Regions from separate parts of the Homo sapiens genome. Here region 2 is linked to region 1. The links are contacts of gene promoters, found by promoter capture Hi-C in blood cells and fetal thymus (Javierre and others, 2016). All regions are on one chromosome and are shown on one strand. Each heading gives the region's core, a stretch centred on a gene start or on the middle of the fragment in contact. The rest is flanking DNA. Distances are from core to core; before and after follow the strand shown.

The links. The method cuts DNA at HindIII sites, captures the fragments that hold promoters and counts their contacts. A CHiCAGO score of 5 or more calls a contact.
Region 2: a fragment that was not itself captured here is called in contact with the fragment with the promoter of UBR5 in region 1 in 1 of 17 cell types (fetal thymus); the score reaches 7.7 in fetal thymus.

What each region holds. Positions count from the first base shown.
Region 1 is chr8:102,410,421-102,414,755 of GRCh38, forward strand. It overlaps UBR5 (ubiquitin protein ligase E3 component n-recognin 5), which reads right to left and starts at 2,280. Exons shown (of 59, transcript NM_015902.6): 1 at 1,753-2,280. The coding sequence starts at 1,814. LOC105375683 (a long non-coding RNA gene) reads left to right here and starts at 1,919. Exons shown (of 5, transcript NR_168428.1): 1 at 1,919-2,591. RefSeq lists enhancers at 502-561, 672-1,450, 1,451-2,229, 2,604-2,873, 3,435-3,544 and 2 more and silencers at 1,644-2,083, 2,144-2,223, 2,254-2,453. The HindIII fragment of the contact is 11,584 bases long and covers 1-4,335 here.
Region 2 is chr8:100,944,324-100,948,656 of GRCh38, forward strand. It overlaps YWHAZ (tyrosine 3-monooxygenase/tryptophan 5-monooxygenase activation protein zeta), which reads right to left. Exons shown (of 6, transcript NM_145690.3): 2 at 4,273-4,333. Among named protein-coding and RNA genes, the nearest start is that of YWHAZ, 5.5 kb to the right of the region's middle. The HindIII fragment of the contact is 2,056 bases long and covers 1,646-3,701 here.

The sequences.
Region 1 (4,335 bases), core at 1,030-3,529:
TACTAGCCTGTTTCTAAATTTTACCAAAAAATTTTATGTTAATGTCTCCAAAAGATCTTTAATGAAGTAAAGTCAGGCTAAGAACCACATAACAAAATGTTAAATAACTAAAAAGTTATTTCAGAATTTAAAGGAACTATGTGACAACTCTGAGTAGTTAGTATTTTCAGTAAGTATTTCAAAAGATTCCCAAACATGTTAAATACAATATGGCTACAGCAAAGATTAGGCAAATCCGAACCAAGTGCAGAAACTAAACCGCCAGCTCTGGATTTAAAAGCTGTCTGCTCCACTTGAGGCGGTTAGATACACTGACACAAGAGGCCAGTATCTCAGCAGCAAGTTAGGCCTCTTCCTCCCTCTGGGAAGCGCATGACAAACAGGGCATCATGCAACTTAAGTCACCCGGTCACTTAGCAAAAATTCTATGTAACTTCTAAACTTGGGACCAGATGGCCTTCTATACGCAAAAGAAATGTAGAGAGCAGTGAAGTACTGGGAGAGAGGAAGACTTAAAATGCTCCACTTTGTGATCCTGTAAACATTTAGCCCATCATTAGATCTGAGTCTTAGATTCTAAGACATGCTTTAATGGAGGCCTCCCTCAACCTCCTGAGTCTGTTTTCCAACAGTGAAGGAACTTTTCCTGCCTTATCTCAGTTCCCTGAGAGCATGCGGCACTGCAATTCAATATCCTAAACTGGCAAGGAACGGTGGCGGAAGAAAAGGAGAAATCCAAACCAAAACAGCCTATAAAAGACAAAACATAAAATAAAATCATAATTCATCCTCCGCCCATAGCAAACCCAACCCAGAAATTTACAGCGTGTTAAGAAAAGCAGCATTGCGAACTGCAAACGTAAGAGTTTTCCTTTGACACTCTACGCACGGTTTTCAGCTGTCAAATTACAACTCAGGAAAACACTATCATTAGAATAGAAAAGGAAACAAAAAAGCTCGCACCACAGGGGCTAGTAGCAGGAGCTGCCAGCACCATTTCAGGAGGAGAGTAAAGGGAATCCAATGCACTTCCCCACCCCCGCTTGAATCCATCCCCTCCCGGGGCAGGCAAACCTCACTGCAGGGGCTCAAATTTAATAATAATAACAATAATCATGGCGCTTCCTCCCTCACTCCCTCCCCCAACTATCACCTTCCCCCCACCCCCCGCCCGCTCCCAGCAATCTGCCGGGAATCGGCTTCTCTCCCCAACCCGACCCCGGGATCCCCAGGTCCAGACCACCCCACCGGACACAGCTGCCGGGGGCCCGGGACAAGCCCAGCCCAGCCCACCCCGGGGCCCCTGGCCCCGCTTCTCCTCTTCCCTCTCTTTTTACCTCCACCATCCCCCATCCGCATTGTCTGTCTCAATTCAACTTTGACTAATATGGATTCCTCGGGCCTTGGCCGGGCAGTAATTACCGCCTGCCCCCCGGGAGCCAGAAACCACCCCCCCATCTCCGCCGAGTTCAACGCCGCTCCTTGCGGGAGGGGGAAGGGGGTTTACAGAGCGCTCTCCAGTCTACACCGCGAGTCCCGTCTACACCGCGCTCCCCCCGCGGCCCCCTGCCCCCGGGATGAGAAGTTTGCCCCGGAAGGAGCCTAGCAGGAGGCAGTAAGGACCCCCGCACCCCACCCCAGCTGGCCGGCCGGCGCGTAAACACCCGCACCCGCCCGGCACGGCCCGTGGGGGAGGGGAGGGAGGGAAGGGCGCCCCTCCCCCCGCGCCCGCCGACCCGCCAGCCCTATTACCTGTCATTGAGCTGGTCCTCGGTGCCCGGCAGCGGGTGAACCACGAAATGGATGGACGTCATGGTGCTTTCCTTCTCGTCCTCCACTCGAGGGCGGCCCCCTCCCGCTCTCGCCCGCCCCCCAGCCCTCTACCCCTCCCCAAAACCCACAGCCGCCGCCGCCTCCCAGTCCCCAAATGGAGGGAAGCAAATACGCAGGGGCCGCCGCCGCCTCCCTGCCGGGCGTGTGTCCGCGGCCCGGAGGGGCGGGCAGGAGGGCGAATCCACACGCCACCCGCTCCCCCGGCGACAGCGCGGAGTGCGAGGCAGGCGGCCGGGACCAGGGGCGCGCCGCCGGCCAGCGGCAGACGGGCGTTGGGAGAGGGGCGGCCGGGGGAGGAGAGGGGCGGCTGCTGGCTGCGGGCTACGGGGACGGTCTGGTCCCGGCGGCGGACGGGGTCCGGACTAGGGGAGGTGAGGAAGGAGGGGAAGGAGATGAGCCCGCACCGCGCGTCACTAGCGAGAAGCTGCCGCCGCCATCTTCACTTCTGCCCCAGTTTCTCCGTCTCGCAGGCTCCGCTCCGGAGCGGCGGGGGAGGGGCAAACGGGAGGAGGAGGAGGGAGGAGACCGGCGGGCGGGGGCGCGGCGGCGAGAGGCGGGGCTCCGGGAAACGGGCGGCAAGGCCCCCTCGATTGGGCTGCTCAACGTTGTCGGGCCACGACGCTGTAAGGCGCGTGCCGATTGGTCCGTTCGGCTCCCGAGCCCAGCCCCGCCGGGGGTGGGATGTCTCCAGAGTGAGTGTTCCGGAGAGCACGTGTTAGGGAAGGAGGAGGCTGCGGGCTAACCTGCCGGGAGGGAGGGTAAGTGTGTGTCCCAGAGGAGGCGAGGAGGAAGAGGGGCTCTTGTGTTCTTTCGCTCGGATTCCCCTGGGGCAGCCCTAATTATTTGGCGGATCCTTAGGGGTTTCTTGTTGCTTCTCATCCTTCATCCGCAGTTGTATTTATGGTGAAGTTGGTAAAATCAGTTAAGGGGCAAGACATATACAGCCTTTTATTGGAAAAGTAAGGAAATTATGTAAGGGCCTTTCCAGAAGGAGATAGTAGGATCCTGGAGTTGGCTTTGCAGCAACTTCTATTACCTCGGTCTCCCCAGTTTCCTCACCACCATCACATGCCCAAAGACAAAATGTGGAAATTTCCACTAATTTCCTGATATAAATGATTCGTGATTTTTTATTACTTTTAAATGAAAGATGATAAACCTGTTCTACAAAGGAGTTCAATTTATGATCAGTGGAATCAGAACGGAAAATTATTATTTTTTTTTTTTTTTTCCCCGAGACGGAGTTTCGCTCTTGTTGCCCAGGCTGGAGTGCAATGGCGCGGTCTCGGCTCACCTCAACCTCCGCCTCCCGGGTTCAAGCGATTTTCCTGTCTCAGTCTATGGAGTAGCTGGGATTACAGGCATGTGTCACCACGTCCGGCTAATTTTGTATTTCTTTTTTAGTAGAGATGTGGTTTCACCATGTTGGCCAGGCTGGTCTCGAACTCCTGACCTCAGGTGATCCACCCGCCTCGGCCTCCCAAAGTGCTGGGATTACAGGCCTGAGCCACCACGCCTGGCCGAGATAGGATCTTTTATACCGAGTTTCTACTATAAGACACTTTCAGAGTTTTGGCCACGGCGCACAGTGGCTCACGCCTGTAATCCCAGCACTTTGGAAGGCCGAGGATGTCGGATCACCTGAGGTTGGGAGTTCGAGACCAGCCTAGCCAACTTGGTGAAACCCCATCTCTACTAAAAATGCAAAAATTAGCCAGGCATGGCTGTGCGCGCCTGTAAACCCCACTACTCAGGAAGCTGAGGCAGAAGACTTGCTTGAACCTGGCAAGTTGCAGTGAGCTGAGATCATGCCACTGCACTCCAGCCCGGGCAACAGAACGAGACTCCATCTCAAAAAAAAATTTTTTTTAATCAAATAAGTCTGTTTTTTTTTCCCTAAGGAACCAATTCATGACTTTCTTCTCAAAGGTTTCTATGACCTCCTTTAAAAAATAAAGTACCTCTTCGAAGGCAAAAACTGAGAACATGACATTCCTTCTACAGAGGTGGTCTGTTAATGAATTACACACACACACACACAGTTTTGCTTAGGAAGTTCTTCTGAGCAAAATTTATGAAAAAATACTTACAAATCAGGACAGACCTGGTACCCTCAAGGCAGATAATGGAACACTTTTGTAGGTTACCAGCTCAACCATTGGCCCAGATTAGTTTAGACTAAAAAGTGATTTCAAGGTCACTATTAGATGTCCCTGGGAGCCCTGAGGAAGGAAGGTAGACCAGTAGACACTGCTAGATTTCAAGCCAAACAGATCTAAAAAAAATTTTTTTTTTTTGAGACGGAGTCTTTGCTCTGTCGCCCAGGCTGGAGTGCAATGGCACGATCTTGGCTCACTGCCACCTCCGCCTCCTGGGTTCAAGTGATTCTCCTGCCTCAGCCTCCCGAGTAGCTGGGATTACAGGCGCTGCCACCATGCCTGGGTAATTTTTGTATTTTTAGTAGAGACAAGGTTTCACCATGTTGGCCAGGTTGGTCTCGAA
Region 2 (4,333 bases), core at 1,424-3,923, 1.5 Mb before region 1:
TTCTGTGGGCTGGAGATAAAAATCAGTGACCCATAACCACAACTTAAAATTGCCCTGAGCAAATAAAAACGTAGAGCAGCAATAAAATAGAACTCAGTCAAATTAACAGAATCACTATTAAGATTACTCAACTGCAGTTGCCAACTGTTATAAATGTTAGACACACAATTTTACACTGCTTCCTCTCGGAGACCTCCTATATAAAGTCATTCTCTGCCTACAGCAGTGGATTTTAAATTTTAAAATGAAACCTTTGAAAATTTGATGGTTGGCATGGACCTTCTGCCCCACAAAAATACACAATTTTAAAGGCTTCTTCAATCTTCGAAATTCCATTCATGGACTGTAAGTTAAGAGACCCCTGCACTATTATAGGCAGGCTCACACTTTTAAATAGAACTGAAAAGCTAAGATAAACAGGACACAGAAGGTAGTCAAGGTGCTTTACCTGACTCTCATTCCCCACAACCCTGTGGGATGAGTATTATTCCTATTTAATTGAGCTTAGTTTTCTCAGAGGGACTGAGTGATTTCCTCAGGCCATGCATCTATTAAATGGTAAAACTAGTTTGACTCAGTATCTTGAGCTCCATTATTCACCTCGACATACTTCTTTGAGTTTGAAAGAGGCTTCCTAGACTGTATTTCCTTGGTATTCATTTCATCATGTGCAAGATAAAAACTACCCAATTTTTGGCTGCCATCTTTCAGGTTTAAAGAGGTACTAGTGTTGAGTCCCTCCCCAACTACCAAGAGAGCTTTTGTCTAAGCATCTGGCAGGAAAGGCAGATTGCATTAGTTCACATATTGCAGTTTGAAATTAACACGTGGAAGAGAAGAAACCCAAGTTCTTTTACATAATGCAAAGTCCACATTGTGAAGAGCATGCCAGTGACCACTTCCCGCCATAATGCTCTATTTACTCTTGTAATATGCAACATGGTCCAAGCTCTTTGCTTATTAAATGGTTAAACAATAGATAAATACATATAACCAGAATGGGTTACTAAAGAGCTCTTCAGAAAAACTCAGAACTTTGGAGATTAGCTGCTTTTTGTAGGAAGAAAGTTTATTTTCATAGCTATTATAAAATAGGTGCTCAATATAAAAAATCTGGTTATCACTAATGCCACAAGCCAATACTATTATTTCTGCAAAGGGACACCTGCTTATTTTTCTCAAATTAAAAAATATATATATCAAAGCCCAGAAAAGGCTGGAGTAATAAAAAATTATAATTGATTTTTTATCATGTAAGATCTTAAAAATATAATTTAAAATATTTTTACTAATCATTAATAATGATTCAATAACTTTTTCTAGTAGAAATATCAGTTCTGCTACATTTTATTCTTCCATCTCACAGAAAGGGCAGAAGGAATTTTATGCAATATGTTTCCAGAGTCGATGTGACCTATTTGAAAAAGATGGTAGGAAAAAGAAGCCTATTATCGGTAAATATCAAATTTTCCCAAGCAGAAAAAGAAAAAGCTAGGGAAATTTTGCAGTGCTGCTGACCTAATTCTATGCTCTTTCTCTAAAGAAGCCTTTCTGCTTGTTTAACAAATATTTGAGCATCTATTACACGTTGAGTATGCAAAGATCACTAAGTCTTACTCCTGAAAAGACCAAGGCTGGAAGCAAAAGCTTGTTTAGAATTCTCTTCAAAGCCATTTGTATAGTAAAGAAATTAAACTCTCATTTATCCAAACTTTCAAAGTGTAAATACCATTAAAACTTTTTGGGAAGCCAGTGCTATTCTGGAGGGTAACGATGTGGGTAGGGACCAGAGTGAACTTCCTTAATAATCATAACAAGAAGAAACTATTTATATGAAGAGATTATCTTGTTATCCTCATCTACTGGTTCTATGCAAACAAAGTTTCTTCATAAGGAAACTAAAGGGAAGCATAGTCAAAACTGCTACAAGTTGGGCTGGACGTGGTGGCTCACTCCTGTAATCCCAGCACTTTGGGAGGCCAAGGCGAGTGGATCACCTGAGGTCAAGAGTTAGACGTGACCTGGTCACCAGCCTGGCCGACAAGGTGAAACCCCATCTTTACTAAAAGTACAAAAATTAGCTGGGCGTGCTGGTGCACGCCCAGTAATCCCAGCTACTCGGGAGGTCAAGGCAGAAGAATTGCTTGAACACGGGAGGCGGAAGTTGCAGTGAGCTGAGATGGTGCCATTGCACTCCAGCCTGGGTGACAAGAGCAAAACTCAGTCTCAAAACAAACAAACAAACAAACATACACAAAAAACAAACCTGCTACAAGTCTTTTCCTTGGAAAAGACTCACAATGACAGGAACTTTTATACTTTGTATATGGAAAACATGCACATACCTACCTGGTATTGCAAATAAGCGTGTTAGTAAAAGGTAAATGTTACATTCCTTTTTATTCCTAAAATTGACTTTTGTCTTAAGGGAAATGTTAATGTGTAACACACCCTTTGAAGCCAAAATAAAAACTTTTCGATCAGGTGTAATAATTGGGAAAAACACTCCAGACTGAACAAAACTGAATTACACATACACAGATATTAGTTAGTAAGGTGAGCAAAAAAAAAAAACAAAAAAAACAAAAAAACCCAATACATTTTTTATTATAGAAAAAAAAAATCACATTTTCAAAATTTAAATATTTGGCCGGGCGCGGTGGCTCAAGCCTGTAATCCCAGCACTTTGGGAGGCTGAGGAGGGCGGATCACGAGGTCAGGAGATCGAGACCATCCTGGCTAACATGGTGAAACCCCGTCTCTACTAAAAATACAAAAAAATTAGCCGGGCGCAGTGGCAGGCGCCTGTAGTCTCAGCTATTCGGGAGGCTGAGGCAGGAGAATGGCGTGAACCCGGGAGGCGGAGCTTGCAGTGAGCCGAGATCGCGCCACTGCACTCCAGCCTGGGCAACAGAGCAAGACTCCGTCTCAAAAAAAAAAAAAAACAAAAAACAAAATTTAAATATTCTTATTACCTTAGCAAAATCACAAAACAGACATTTGTCACTTGGCCCCAATAAAAGCAAGATATTCCTTTTTTCAACTTAGATACAAATAGTAGCTATCATTCTAAAGGTTTCAATAAGCAAAGAACAAAAAAATGCCCCAAGACAGATGCCTCATTGAGTTTGTGGCTGTGAACCCAAATAAGCATGTTTAAAAAATCACTATTCTTTAAAAAGACAGTGTCAAGTAAGTATCATTTGAGAAAATTACAGTTTAGGAACTGATGCTATTCCATTAGTAAATACAAATGTAAAGAAATGATAGTATCATCACAACTTTAACAAAAACCCCAAACCCACAACCACATCAGACATTATCCTATTGCTCATTATAGCACTTCTTCCATAAACAAGGTTCATATAGTAAGTAACAAACCTGGATTTCCATACTGAGTTCCAGATTCAGTAATCTGTCCAGAAAAATCGAGATGCTGCCCCTCTTTGTATATCAGAGCCCTTCCATACTGGTTAAGTGTAACCATTTAGTAAAACCACTTTAAATATTATTCCAAAAACTGCCAGCTTGGTTGGATTCTCTACTGGTTTATCCTCAAATTTAAACTATTCTTGATCAAAAAGCCCTACTTTATATGACAGATTAAAATTAACCAAAATGTAGTTTAATTCTTTTAAGCGCAGTGCTTCAACACAGTAAGTACTGAATACTTAAAATACTCGATTCAAACTGGAAAATCAAGCTTGAGTTGTTCATAACCTTTCATCATGGTTGTGAGTGTTCAAAATTTACCTTCAAGAATTCAATGCAGGAAGAGGTTTCATAGTTGTGACGCCAGAGTTTTCTGCATGGTTGACTCATTACATTAACATTATAGCGGCTAATCCTGAGAAGAGTACTATTTCTACAATGAGTATCCTATTACATCTCTCTTACCTAAAGTATGTAAAATTCCTTTATCCACAGATGTACATTTAAGATAACCAGCTATAGAGCTACTACAAATATTCTAACCATAAGTAAAACAGTAACACAATTAGTTTATATTTTCAATTAATATAAAATACAATACTAAAGTCTGTTATTTTTAACAAAACTGAACTGTTTCATAATCATTGTTGCAATTATTTTACATACACGTATCTATAATTGTCTTAACATCTTTTTAGTCATGACACCATGAAGACTTTTAAATTTGGAACACACAATGTTTAGAAGGAAAAGAAAAACCAAACAAAAAGTTAAGAGTAATGTAACTGATACTCATAGGGACCCTACAGTATAATGAAGCCAGACTGAATTGATTCTCACCAGTACATCATTGCAGATATCTCTTAGCTCCGTCTCAATTTTCTCTCTGTATTCTCGAGCC